Linked DNA regions of Homo sapiens: region 2 is linked to region 1. The links are contacts of gene promoters, found by promoter capture Hi-C in blood cells and fetal thymus (Javierre and others, 2016). All regions are on one chromosome and are shown on one strand. The core of a region is centred on a gene start or on the middle of the fragment in contact, and the rest is flanking DNA. Distances in the headings are between cores, read along the strand shown.

Region 1 (6,133 bases), core at 1-2,500:
AGAGAAAAGCCCTCGTCCTCCGCAAACTACAACCGGCGGCGTCGCCCCTCGCAGTCGGCCCCTACTCGGTGTCCAGCTCCAAGTGAGGGCCGGAGGGGGCTGGGCGGGGGCGGCCGACCTACCCCGAGCGGAGTACTACCCGGTACTTTATGTAACACTCAGATTCGGGACTGAGTGGGGGGCGACGAAGAAGGGCCAGAGGAACGGCGTTGCCCGGGACCGAGGCACCGGGTCCGCGGGAACCCCGGCCCACAGCCGCCCTCCTCCTGCAGCCCCGTCTCGGCGCCCTATAGCCCCAGGCGCCGGCACATCCCTCCATCTCGCGCCGTAATCTGCACCCCCTCCTAGAGGACGCGGCTTGGACCCGCCGCCCCCTCCCCCGCAGCACCCGCCTCATCACTTCACTACAAAGAGCGCTTTGGTCGCGCAGCCTTGCAGCGAGACCTCTCGCGCCTCCTTCCTCCTCCGTGTCCCGGGCTTTGCACACAAGGACCTTGGCGAATCAAAGGCGCTCCAGACCTTTTGTTCCTGCCCCTGCCGAGGGCCGCCGCTGCGGAGCCGGCCGCTTCCTCCGGTCCACGGCAGGACCGGCCCGGCTCCGCGGCGCGCCCGGACCCGCCGGGAAGGAGGCGGCCGCCCCCGCCCATCCATCACCCGGCCGTACCTTGGTATTTCGCGTCGATCTCCCGCATCAGCGAGACATTTCTCTGCAAGTCGAAAGGCAGGGACTCGATGGAGTCCAGGTAGTCCTCCACATAGTTCACCAGGTGGAGCTGCTCCCCGTTGGCAGGACTCAACATGGTTCACCCCGGAGGTCCCCGGCGACTCGGCGCGGCTTTCCGCTTCCTCCACCCCCCGCCCCCCTCAAAAAATAGCACTGCAAAATGCAAAGCCCTCGCTCTCCCGGCGCCCCCCCGCCGGCTCCTGCTTCGGCCCGGCGGCTACATCTGCCGAGCCCGTCCGCCGCCTCCGGGTCCGCGGGGACCCCAGCGCCTGAGGGCGCGGGCCGCGGTGGCGGTGGCTCCCGGGCGCACGCCCCGGCCGGCGGCGCAGGCCCCCTCTCAGGCGGCGGGGCTGGCGCCGGGGGCCGCGCGTACGAGCGCGCACACACCGGCGGGAGAGGGCCCAGCGCCGCGGCCGCCGCTGCCCACTCGCCCACTGGGCTGGGTAGAAGAGAGGAGCGGAGCGGGCAGCGGGAAGGGGCGCGCTCCGCTGGCCGCCGAGCCGCACTTGTCCAACGTGGAAAACCCAAATACCAGTTTCAAACACTTGGGAAACATTCAGCCCCGCTGCGCAGCGCGCATGCGCCCCGGCCCCCTCCCCCGGCAACGGCCCCGCCCCCCGCCGCATTCACGCCCCTCACCGTCCCAGGCCCTGGGGGCTGCGGGCTCCAGGCCGGCCCTCGCGGGGGCGTGGCCTTGCCTGTCACTTTTTCCAGAGGCGAGGGTCGCGGAGGGGACAGCGTCAGGGCCGCTGGGGTGTGGACGGCGGGCGAGGCGCAAACTTTACTAGGAGTTTTTGGCACTTGGAGGCAGAGCCTGTTGGGCGGCACAGCACGCCCGCTGGGAAACGCAGGGGAGCGGCCTGCTTCGCTGAAAACCCGACCAGGACCTAACGGGCCGCGGGACAGAAACCTCCGAGACCATGGTACACAGCAACTACCGCAACTCGCTCCTCAGCCCCTGACTCTTCGTCCCCGCCCCACAGAGCAGTATAAGTAGGGCCCGAAACAGAACTGGCAACCGCAGTAGCCAATCTACTTGCCAACATCACTTTGACAGCCCAATCACGATGAAGAGGAGGCGGGGAGACCGTGAGTAATGCCCCCCGGACTCTTACTACTAGAAACCCAAGTCCTCCGGGAGGCGGAAGGAAGGGGAGGGCCGGGCACGGGCGGAAGTGGCGGCGCATGCGCACTGGCACCCTCTCGGTGTCCTTTGAGCTGCGGCCGCAGAGTGCGCGGGAGACCTACCCATTCCGCGGCCGGACCACCACTCCCAGCAGCCTAGGCGGCTCCCGCGCCTGCGCCATCCGTCACCGCCCTCCCTTTGTGTCGTCTCCCGGTACTCAGTTTGGAACGGCTTGGAGACAAAGGGGCCTGAGAGGGAAGCTGCTTCCTAGTGCCGAGCCCCAGAAGAGGTGGATAGGCCCGAGGGGCGCCTTCCCTAGGCCTTATCTCTTCCCGCCCTGTGTCATGGACACCGTTCTCGGAGGCCGCTCCCCACACTTGGAAAGGCCGCCCACAGTATGCAGACACCCGGTCGGCCGGCGTCCTGAGGCCATTCAGCTCCCCGGACCGCCCTCCCCCGCGTCGCCCCTCTACCCTCCCAAAGCTCCCGGATTTTGGGCTTTCTGAGAAGCCTGGACGCCACGCGAGCCCGTTGCCTAGGCGACCGGCCCCGCGCGCCGGCCCCCCCCCTTCCGGCCAAAGGGCCCGCCCCTCCTGGGCGTGGCCTCGTGCCTTTGTGCACTTCCCGCCTGGCTCTCTGGTTCCGGGGCGGCCTCGGCTTCGGCCTCCGCCCCGCTGCGGCCGCCGCGGGTCCCCTCCGGGGTGGCCCCGAGAGCTGTGTTCGCCACGCTTGGCTGCCTGCTTTTCTCTGATTTTCTTCCGCCTTGGACCCTGCTCTATTTGCATTGTCTTTTTTTCAGCAAGTCGGAGAACGGTGCCTTGTCAGTTTTCACCTTTCTCACTGGACTTTCTCTTTTCCGGAGAGCCGGGTTGGTGGTGCTGCCTGTGTATTCCACGAACTAAGCCCTGTCCCCAGCCCTTGCAGTGTTTCTGTATCAACTCCACGCCAGCGCGGTTCTCCATTTTTCTTAGCCTCTTAATTAGGACAGGGTCGGATTTCAGCTTTTATCCACCGGGTTTATCCTGTTGCAAAGCAGAGTACACAGTTTTAGACACAAAATAATTGCAGTTGAAATGGATACACATTCTGGTGGTAAGATTTGGAAACGTGGTATTTGATGGAACCCTGTTGTAACATCTAAAACTCTTTGGATTTTTTAAAAACGTATTCTGTGTAATCCAGTAAAAATTTGGATTCGTCCAGTATTTATAGAGTAGATTATTAACCGCAGTGGTGCTCATTCCAGGGCCCTGCCGGGTATTTTGTGCTATGGATGTGAGTACGGCAAAGAGACTGAATTAAGCTGTTTTGTATTTGGAATCGGATTGTTCACGTTGCAACGTTGCTGCAATGATAAATGGATGGATACTCTTTACACTTTGAAGTGGATTTAATCTTCACTTTTAAGCCCCTTCATCTCACCTACACAGCAGGAGAGCTTTGGCTTTGATATTTGGGGAAATGGCTGTTATTTTACTTACAGATCACGCTATTCTAGTCTTGGCCTAGTTAAAAGCAAATGAGTACTTTAGTTTCTACAAGATTTATTGGCCACTACTTGGTCTGCACAAAAGACTATAACACTTGGCCGGACGCGGTGGCTCACGCCTGTAATCCTACCACTTTGGGAGGCCGAGGCGGGCGAATTGCCTGAGATCAGGAGTTCGGGACCAGCTTGGGCAACATGGTGAAACCCTGTCTCTACTAAAAATACAAAAAATTAGCAGGGCATGGTGGCGCGTGCCTGTAGTCCCAGCTATTGGGGAGGCTGAGACAGAATCACTTGAACCTAGGAGGGGAGGTTGCAGTGAGCCGAGATTGTGCCACTGCACTCCAGCCTGGGCGACAGAGCAAGACTATCTCCGGAAAAAAAGAGAAAAAAAGACTACGACAAGATAACATTATGTGGAAACAAACATTATGTCGAATACAGAGTATAGAGGGAGTACAAAGTTGAATAAGGAAAATTACGCCTTTCCCTCAAAAAGCATATAAGTAATTTAAAAGTACAATAGTAAGAAATAGACCGGTTCTTCTATTCCTAGCATTCATTGGCTCTAGAATGAATAGTGTTTATCTGAACTCAAGAATAAAATTGGAAGTAATTTACCCTTTACAAAGATAAGATGGAGTTTAACCTAGGTTTTCTTTTTAAAAAAAAAAATCACAACACAGTACAATCTGAGTAATGATTTTGTTCCTCTAGTTATGTACTCTCTTCACATACACATAAACCAAAAAGGCATCTTAAGCATTCAACAAGGAATATTGACGAGTGTCTACCATGTGCCAACTACTGGTCCGTGCGCTGGGGATACAGTAGTGAAAAGTTTTTTGGAGCTTTACATTCCATAAAACTTTTAGCCCACCCCTTGGGATAAAAAGTCAAAAAAGATTTTATCTTTTTTGGAACAAACTTAGAAGATCAAGCAATAAAACATAATTACCTTTGATAACGAATTTTAAATGTCATTGAAGAAAGGTGCTTAATTTTGAAGATACGTTGAAGAATCTTGTCTCTTTCAGTTTTGTTTCCTGTGGCGTGTTGCAAAAATGGATGTTAAAACTTTTCCGTAGAACAGAAATTTCAAATGGATTAAAAAGAAACATTTAAAATTAAACTTTTTTCTAAAATTATATTTCCAGTCTAACTGAAAATGCTCAAACCTATGAGAGTCAGATATAAGAGATGAACATATAATTCTTTTTCTTTTTTTGAGACGGAGTCTTGCTCTTGTCACCCAGACTGGAGTGCAGTGGCGTGATCTCAGCTCACTGCAACCTCCGCCTCCCGGGTTCAAGCGATTCTCCTGCCTCAGCCTCCTGAGTAGCTGGGATTACGGGTGCCGGACGCCATGCCCAACTAATTTTTGTATTTTTAGTAGAGACGGAGTTTTGTCATGTTGGCCCAGGCTGGTCTCGAACTCCTGACCTCAGGTGATCCGCCTGTCTTGGCCTCCCAAAGTGCTGGGATTACAGGCGTGAACCACCGCGCCTGGCCAAGCATAGAATTGTTTAAGTTTCAAAGTGCTTAAAAAATAAATGCAAACTCATTCATCTTAAACTTGAAAACCCCTAAACCATATGCTACCGTAATCAACTCTACTTCTGATTTACAAGATTTTGCCTTGAAAGAAAATGTAATACTGAGAACTTGATTTTGTTATTGTTGTCATTAAGGACTGAGAAATGGCATTAGTGATATTTTGGAATCATTAACTTTAACACACTTCCTCGTTCTGACCTAGATTGGAGAGGGAGGTGACTTCAATTAAATGGATCCTCTTTTTATGTATATATGGTGTATTAGTCAGGGTTCTCTAGAGGGACAGAACTAATAGGATGGAGATATAGATATATATAATGTATATACATATATATGTTTATTAAGTACTAACTTACATAATCACAAGGTCCCACAATAGACTGTCCGCAAGCTGAGGAGCAAGGAGAGCCAGTCTGAGTCCCAAAACTGAAGAACTTGGAGTCTGATGTTCGAGGGCAGGAAGCACCCAGCACAGGAGAAAGATGTAGGCTGGGAGGTATAGTAATGAAGAGCATTAGCAGTCTATTTTACTTTACCTTAATATTCAACCTGCAGATATTCAATATGCAAAAAGATCACATTTCTAACCATCATTAGGTAATGAGCTATGTTTCTCCTTGTTTTGATGATCCGCAAAAGCCTTAAGAAAACAGAATTAGCTGCCGGGCACGGTGGCTCATGCCTGTAATCCCAGCACTTTCAGAGACCGAGGTGGGCGGATCACCTGGGGTCGGGAGTTCAAGACCAGCCTGACTAACATGGAGAAACCCCATCTGTACTAAAAATACAAAATTAGCTGGGCATGGTGGCACATGCCTGTAATCCCAGCTACTCAGGAGACAAGCAGGAGAATTGCTTGAACCCGGGAGACGTGAGAAAGAGGCAGGAGAATCGCTTGAACCCAGGAGATCACGCCATTGCACTCCAGCCTGGGCAACAAGAGTGAAACTCCATCTCAAAAAAAAAAAAAAGAAAAAAGAGAAAAGAGAATTGGCCAGGTGTGGTGGCTTAGGCCGGTATTCCCACCGCTTTGGGAGGCTGAGGTGGCTGGATCACTTGAGGTCAGGAGTTCCAGAGTCCCAGACCAGCCTGGCCAACATGATGAAACCCCATCTCTACTAAAAATACAAAAATTAGCTGAGCGTGGTGGCACGCACCTGTAATCCCAGCTACTCGGGAGGCTGAGGCAGAAGAATCACTTGAATCTGGGAGGTGGAGGTTGCAGTGAGCCGAGATC
Region 2 (6,293 bases), core at 859-3,358, about 13 Mb after region 1:
CTCTTTCAAAATGAGTGGACTCAAACTGACTTACAATGTGACTGTGTCTACGGTGCACTTACAACCATCTTTCAGTAAAGGTCTTCAGATTTAGGCTCTAGGTAGAATAAGGCAGGAAAAAAAGGACACCAAAATTATCAGCAGGCATTAACTAACAAGAACTAGATGAAACAGTAATGTGTAATTAAATGATAATTAGAAAAATTTGCCAAAACTTTGAACTAAGATATTATCACATTTCTAATGCTTAAAATTACACGGAAAAATATATTCAGTGAATTTAAGAGAAAACAAACATTTTAAATCATTTATCAGCCATATTTCCAAAATGTATACTTTAGAAAAGAATTTATATATATATATAAAGGCTTATTAACATTAACTTTAAATTAGCTAATACTTGTGTCACACTTTTGAAGAAGCTTCTGTTTTGTTTCCAGGAACTGGTGGTGGTGGTGTGGTGGTGTTTTTTTTTTTTTTTTTTTTTTGGAAGGGGTTAAGGCGGCTATATTAAAAACAAAAAAACAAAAACAAACAGTTAAGCTGCATTCTTTTCCTGTGAATGGCTTATTTGTACTCCTCTGTTAATATTCTCGAAACCCCATTTAGCTTATGATGTCTTCAAATAATTTAATAATCTGTCTTTAAAGTTTTGCACTAAATTAGAGACTTAATTTTTGTAAAACGCCTTGGAACCATAAACCTTTAACGAGATGAGAAAGGTCTCCTTCCTCTGGACTTGACTTTACTGTATAGGTGTGTGAGCGATTTTTACTGTCAAACATTGCCAAGGCAGATTGTTGTTGTTCAGTCTGCAAATGTCTCGACTATACCTGCACAGTTCCTCTCTTCCCAAGACAAATCTATCCACCCCTTTCCCCCCTGCAAGTTTTAAACTTTGTTTCCTTGGGGGCTCTGTAACAAGCAATGCTAACAACGTCCAAGAGACAAAGAGCTGTTCTGTGGGCTAACACGATGCCAAATTTTAGTTGTGAAACAAAGCACTCAAATTTGAGATTGAGGAGGAGGAGCAGAATGACAATAGTAAAGCCTCCAGCTTGGAGCCACCCCCCAGAAAGCCCCTTCCCCGGAGCCCCGCGCGGGGAGTTCCAGCCCCGGGACGGTGACTCCGGGGTGCAGCCGCCAAGCCCCCGTGTGCCCTCGCTCACCGCTTCACGCGGATGATCTGGTCCCGCATGGGCTTGATGTCCTGGAAGCTCTGCTGGTTGACGAGGCTGTAGACGAGGATGAAGCCCTGGCCGTTCTTGATGTACAGGTCCCGCATGGACGCGAACTGCTCGGTGCCCGCCGTGTCCAGGATCTCCAGCACCGACGGCGACGAATCCACCTCGATCTCCTTGCGGTAGAAGTCCTCGATGGTGGGGTCGTATTTCTCGATGAAGGTGCCGGTCACGAACTGCACGGTCAGGGCGGATTTGCCTACCCCGCCCGAGCCCAGCACCACCACTTTGTACTCGCGCATCGTCCCTCCGCGGCCGCCGCCGCCGCCGCCGCCCGCGACATAGACCTACGCCGGCCGCGCTGCGCCCCCAGCCCCGGCCCCGGCGGCCCGCCCCGCCGCCTCCCGCTGCCGCCCCCACCTCACAGCCGCGGCGGCCCCCTGGGCGCCGGCGGCGGCGGCGGCAACTGAGGGAGCAGCGGCCCTGGGCATGGGCCGGGCCGAGCCGGGCGGCGATGCGGCCCCGTAGGCACCGGGTGGGACTGAGGGCGAGCAGAGAGAGAGACCGGGAGCCGCTGGTGCCGCCCGAGCCGCGGGCCCGCAGTGCCGCCCGCCCCGCCCCTCGCGCCTCCACGCCCAGATCCCCGCCCGCCGCCGCCGCCGCCGCCGCCGCTACCCCCAGCGCTCGAGCGCGCGCCCGAGCCCCAGCCGCAGCGCGGCCAGGGGCGGGGTCCGGCGGCCGGGGCGGAGCCCGCGGCGCAGCCCCGCCCCCGCCCCCTAGGCGACGGGCCGCGAGCGCTCCCGAGAGGCTTTGCGGGGCTCGGAAGCTTCTGCCCGCGCGGAGATAAACAAGCACCGCGACCGCCGAGCAGCGCCGAACCCAGCGCGCCCAGTCAGACCCCAGGGCCTGTGTACCGAGCATGCGCAGTTCCCGCCCAAGCCAGGAGCAGCGTCAACCTGAGACTCCCGAGACATTAAGAATTCGGAAGGGATGAGATGGTAGAGGGGCTAGAGCTACCTCCAAGCTTTATCCTGAGGCGGGGAGTGAAGGAGAGATGCCCAAGGCCCAAGAGGGGCCGCGAGGGCCTTTGTCCGATGCCACCCAGTCTGTCAGCACTCCTAGAGCTTTGGTTTTATCTTGTATTAGCATGTGAAGCTTTAAGGGGGGGGCACCTACAGGCTTCTGACTGAAGTTGTGTAAACGCAACAAAATGAAGCTTTGGAGCGTTAGGACATTGATGGGAGGGTGACGCCCCCCTCTAGCAGCGCGCCAGAGGGGCGAGTCAGAGGCGGCCACACACCACGGAAGTCGGGTCCAAGCCCGCTGACGTCGCCGGGGTCCCGCCCACCAACCCTCTGGACCCGCCCACATTTCTTCTAGACCCGCCCCTTTCGGTGCCGAACTGAAGTCGAGCTCTTCCCACGCCCTGTCAGCCACGGGTGAGTTGAAAACCTGGAGAGCGGAATCCCGAACGGCAGCCGGAAGGCCCTGGACTCCTCATAGCAACAGCCAGCTAGGGGCATCTAGTGGGAAGCTGGGATTCATTCTAGCCAACCACATCACGTCTCTGTACCACAAGGTACCATTCACGACCAATAAGAGAGCGCCCCCATACCACGTGCCTTTACTCCTTCAACCAATCGAGAAAAACGCTAGTCGTAGGATCCGCAAGCCCACCTCCCAGTGCCTTGCCAGGCGGGGCTCTTCGCGCACGCTCTGCCAACCAATCGTAGGTGAGCTGGCGAGTGACGGAAGCTTCGGCCAAGCCAACCAGAGCTCGCGAGCCCCTTGCCACCGAGGCCGGCGGGATGGAGACAGGGACCGGCTGCTGGGGTTTGGGAGGGGCAGAGATTGAGGAGCCAGTTGCTGTGCCCTGTTCTGGCAAAAGAACAAGATGCGTTGCAAGCCAGAATGATGAATTCCACTTTTCACGTCGCCTCCGTGGCATTCTGCCTAAATGATGGGCATGGAAATGGTGCTGAGGGATGTGGGCTGAATCGAGAACACAGGGACTTTTGTCTTCAGGGTGAGAAATGTTCCGGTCCTTAAGGAAACATCGTGCAGCAGTTGCATGGGTCTTCCAGGCGTTCCTCCCAAAACATTATTTTTTTTCTTTCACTATTGAGTTTTAAAACTTAGCGTTCTGTCGCTAGCATTGCATCTTAGTTACACATCCTCTCCCACCCATAACGTCAAATTTAGGAGACGATACATCCCCAAGCTTTCCTGCATTATTTTTTGCAGTAACTGGTTATTCAGTTTACTTTCTTTAAACTATGTCCTTCTCAAACTAGTCTCACCTGTTCGTTACTGTCGCACATTTCCTGCGAATAACACGTTTCTGTAGTTCTGTTGTTAGAGCCTGGCATACCTCTCCCCGTTCCTCTTTCCCACAAGGTCATCATGCAGAGGGGATTTTGGTCTGAGTTAAAAGCCAGGTATTCTTTCACCATCTTTTCTGTCGATAGTCAAACTACTACAAAGACTACTCAAATTTAGTAGTTTCTTATTTCCCTATAGCTTCGTTATATTAGAATGGATAACTTATATTTGCATTACCTTGCTGTAATGAACACACACCAAGTTTTCATTTAAAATTATCAAGGACAAATGTCCTCTGAATTTAAAAATGTGTATGTAGTAAAATATAACTCAGCATTTCTTGATTACATATCATTAAAATATGAATGGTACTATCTGAGCCACCAGAATCAGCAGTGAAGGTATTATATTAATAAAAAGGACTAAGAATCAGGACTGTTTTAAGGGAACTGGAACCGAAGAGGATCTACTATTTCATCCTAGGCTAGTTAACATGAAATAGTGAATTAAAATTGAAAGAGCTTACATGGATGCTTCATATCTGAGCTACTTTGGCAGGGATGTTTCAAGAGGATGTAGGTAAGTATGGTGTTCACCTAGCTTTCCAGAAGTCTCATATTTTGTGTAAAATTGGTATGCTTATTCATGGTTACTTTGGGTTAGTAGAAGCTATACTTCTTTTCCAAGGAAAGACAGACTGTCTTAAGATTCTAACTGTGCATCTTGGTGATAAGAAGTTCTTAGGGTTGTTAAATAGAGCCAGGAAGCGTGAAGCTTTCTCTCTAGATCATGACAACTCATCTAGTACCTTGCATTACAAAGGAGCTCTAAGTCCATTTACTTTGCAAGGAATGAAGTTCCAGTGATTAATGTTTTTGAGAAATTTGTATTGGGATTGTGGGGTCCAGAAGGTTGCCTTAAGTAACTGTTTTCATGACTCCTAGGTCCCTAGATGTTGAGAAGCTCTGGATTGAAGCTGTCACAAAAATAGTGAGTGGGCTCCGTAGTCACTCCATTTAGCATAATACAGAGTAGGACAGCTTTGTGACATTTCTCAGGCTATTTCCCCTGACCTCTCATCAATGCTGACGTTTTTGATAAGAAGGGGTATAGAGACTGCAGCCCTTGGGGTGGTTACAGTTCATTTATTTACAGGCCTTATATTGACAGGCCTCAGATTTCATGCTCAGTACCATAAAGGTTGATTTTTAACCACCAAGAGGCAAAAGAAACATGACAGGTCGGAGCATATTTTCTCACCTATTCTGGCTTAAATGATGGTACTTACCTGATTTGTGGTTGTAGGTGAAATGTTGGGTGAAAGATTAGCTGCTATAAAAAGGATGTCAGGACGTGTAGAGAATTTAGAGGACTTGGGTGGGAGATGGATGTCTATTTTCTAACCCCTTAGTCATGTTCATTCCGATGCCAGCATAAACTCTATTTTGAGATGATTATAGAAATAACTTATATCTTCATTTGTTTGTGGGAAATAAAAAATAAAAATGATATAAAAGAAATTTGAATTATTCCCAAGAGCTGTAAATCTGTAAGATAGTGAAAACTTAACGCAGTAACTGACACTGCAGGATCCCTTTAGTTTCCAAAGTGCATTGCCAGGAGAATAAAAAGAAAGAAAATCTTCATTTCTCCTCTCTCCACTAAATCTGAAAGGGAGTTATCTCACCTATAGCCAGATACCTTCAATTATCGCACTTGTGTTACCGTGGAAACCCAAGTCCATCCTTTCTTTCTGTAAAAGGTGTTGGAAAAGGTGGTATGAAGTGGGAAAGGTACTGTATTCTGGGACTTCCTGACACCAGCAAGAAGCAAATATGCAGATAATTTAATAGAAACAAATTAGTAGAGGATGTTTGTAATGCGAGGGGTACTTTTCGACTGTAAAACCCTGATTCCTAATGCTTCTTATTAAAGCCTGCATGCCTCTGATTAAACATAAAGGGGAAGGGCATGTCAAGTACATTTAGCACCTGTGAAACGCTGCTGGCAAGTATAAGGAGAGCAGACGATGGTTTCTTGACCTGTGAGGCTCCTAATACAGTTGAGAATCTGCAGTATATATGTGGAGTGGAAAGGAAGGGGCAAAATAAACTTTGTTCTTCCTTTAAAAAATGTGATATGTCTCAGTGCTTTTGAAAAGAAAAGGAATTAGAATGCAGAAATTAAGAGTATGGAAACAACTCAATAAAAGAAACGTATGGGTGGAGAGAGTAGATGTTTCAAAAGGCCATTTTAATCAGAAAAAAAATCTGAAAGAAAAGACGTAATGATTAAAATGTAGGCAGAAAAAAGAAAAAGCCTGAAGAATCTTAAGAGCTAGAGGATTCTGCGGAAAACAGAGCTTCAGTGTGGTTCATTTAACAAAGCAGAAGAGCAGGCACAGTGTTGCTTGCGTACCCAGCAGTTTCCCTTTATTTTTGCCAAAGAAGCTGGGATGAATCAGGATTGGACTTTAATAGCATTGCTTTCCCTCTGCCCACGGTTAGTCCAAAAGTAGGCACGTGACTCAGTTCTTGTCATTGGAATGGGGAGAAGGCTGCTAGGGCTGGAGGGATTTCTAGGATATTGACAAGAGTGAGGAAATATCCCCGTTTTCTGATGTCGCTCTCTTTGCTTCCTGCTTTACACATTGAAATATGAGAATGTGGCCTCCATTTGGGGGCTATGATGCATTATGACATTATGGTGCAATACTGTAGAAAGCCAGCAACTTCGGATGGCCAGGGAGGAGGATGGGAAGAACCTAGGTCCTGCATGACAACATTGGAC

Evidence for each region. The method cuts DNA at HindIII sites, captures the fragments that hold promoters and counts their contacts. A CHiCAGO score of 5 or more calls a contact.
Region 2: a contact is called between a fragment that was not itself captured here and the fragment with the promoter of ING1 in region 1, in 1 of 17 cell types (non-activated CD4 T cells). The highest score is 7.5, in non-activated CD4 T cells.

What each region holds. Positions count from the first base shown.
Region 1 is chr13:110,708,817-110,714,949 of GRCh38, reverse strand. ING1 (inhibitor of growth family member 1) reads right to left here and starts at 1,250. Exons shown (of 2, transcript NM_198219.3): 1 at 665-1,250. The coding sequence starts at 800. It also overlaps a transcript of CARS2 not described here. RefSeq lists silencers at 1-23, 64-323, 414-703, 864-1,053, 1,064-1,413 and 2 more and enhancers at 2,084-2,133, 2,734-2,823. The HindIII fragment of the contact is 10,550 bases long and covers 1-6,133 here.
Region 2 is chr13:97,429,661-97,435,953 of GRCh38, reverse strand. It overlaps RAP2A (RAP2A, member of RAS oncogene family), which reads right to left and starts at 1,785. Exons shown (of 2, transcript NM_021033.7): 1 at 1,170-1,785. The coding sequence starts at 1,483. RefSeq lists silencers at 1,609-1,668, 1,689-2,048 and enhancers at 2,199-2,248, 2,269-2,398, 1,670-2,601, 2,549-2,688. The HindIII fragment of the contact is 198 bases long and covers 2,010-2,207 here.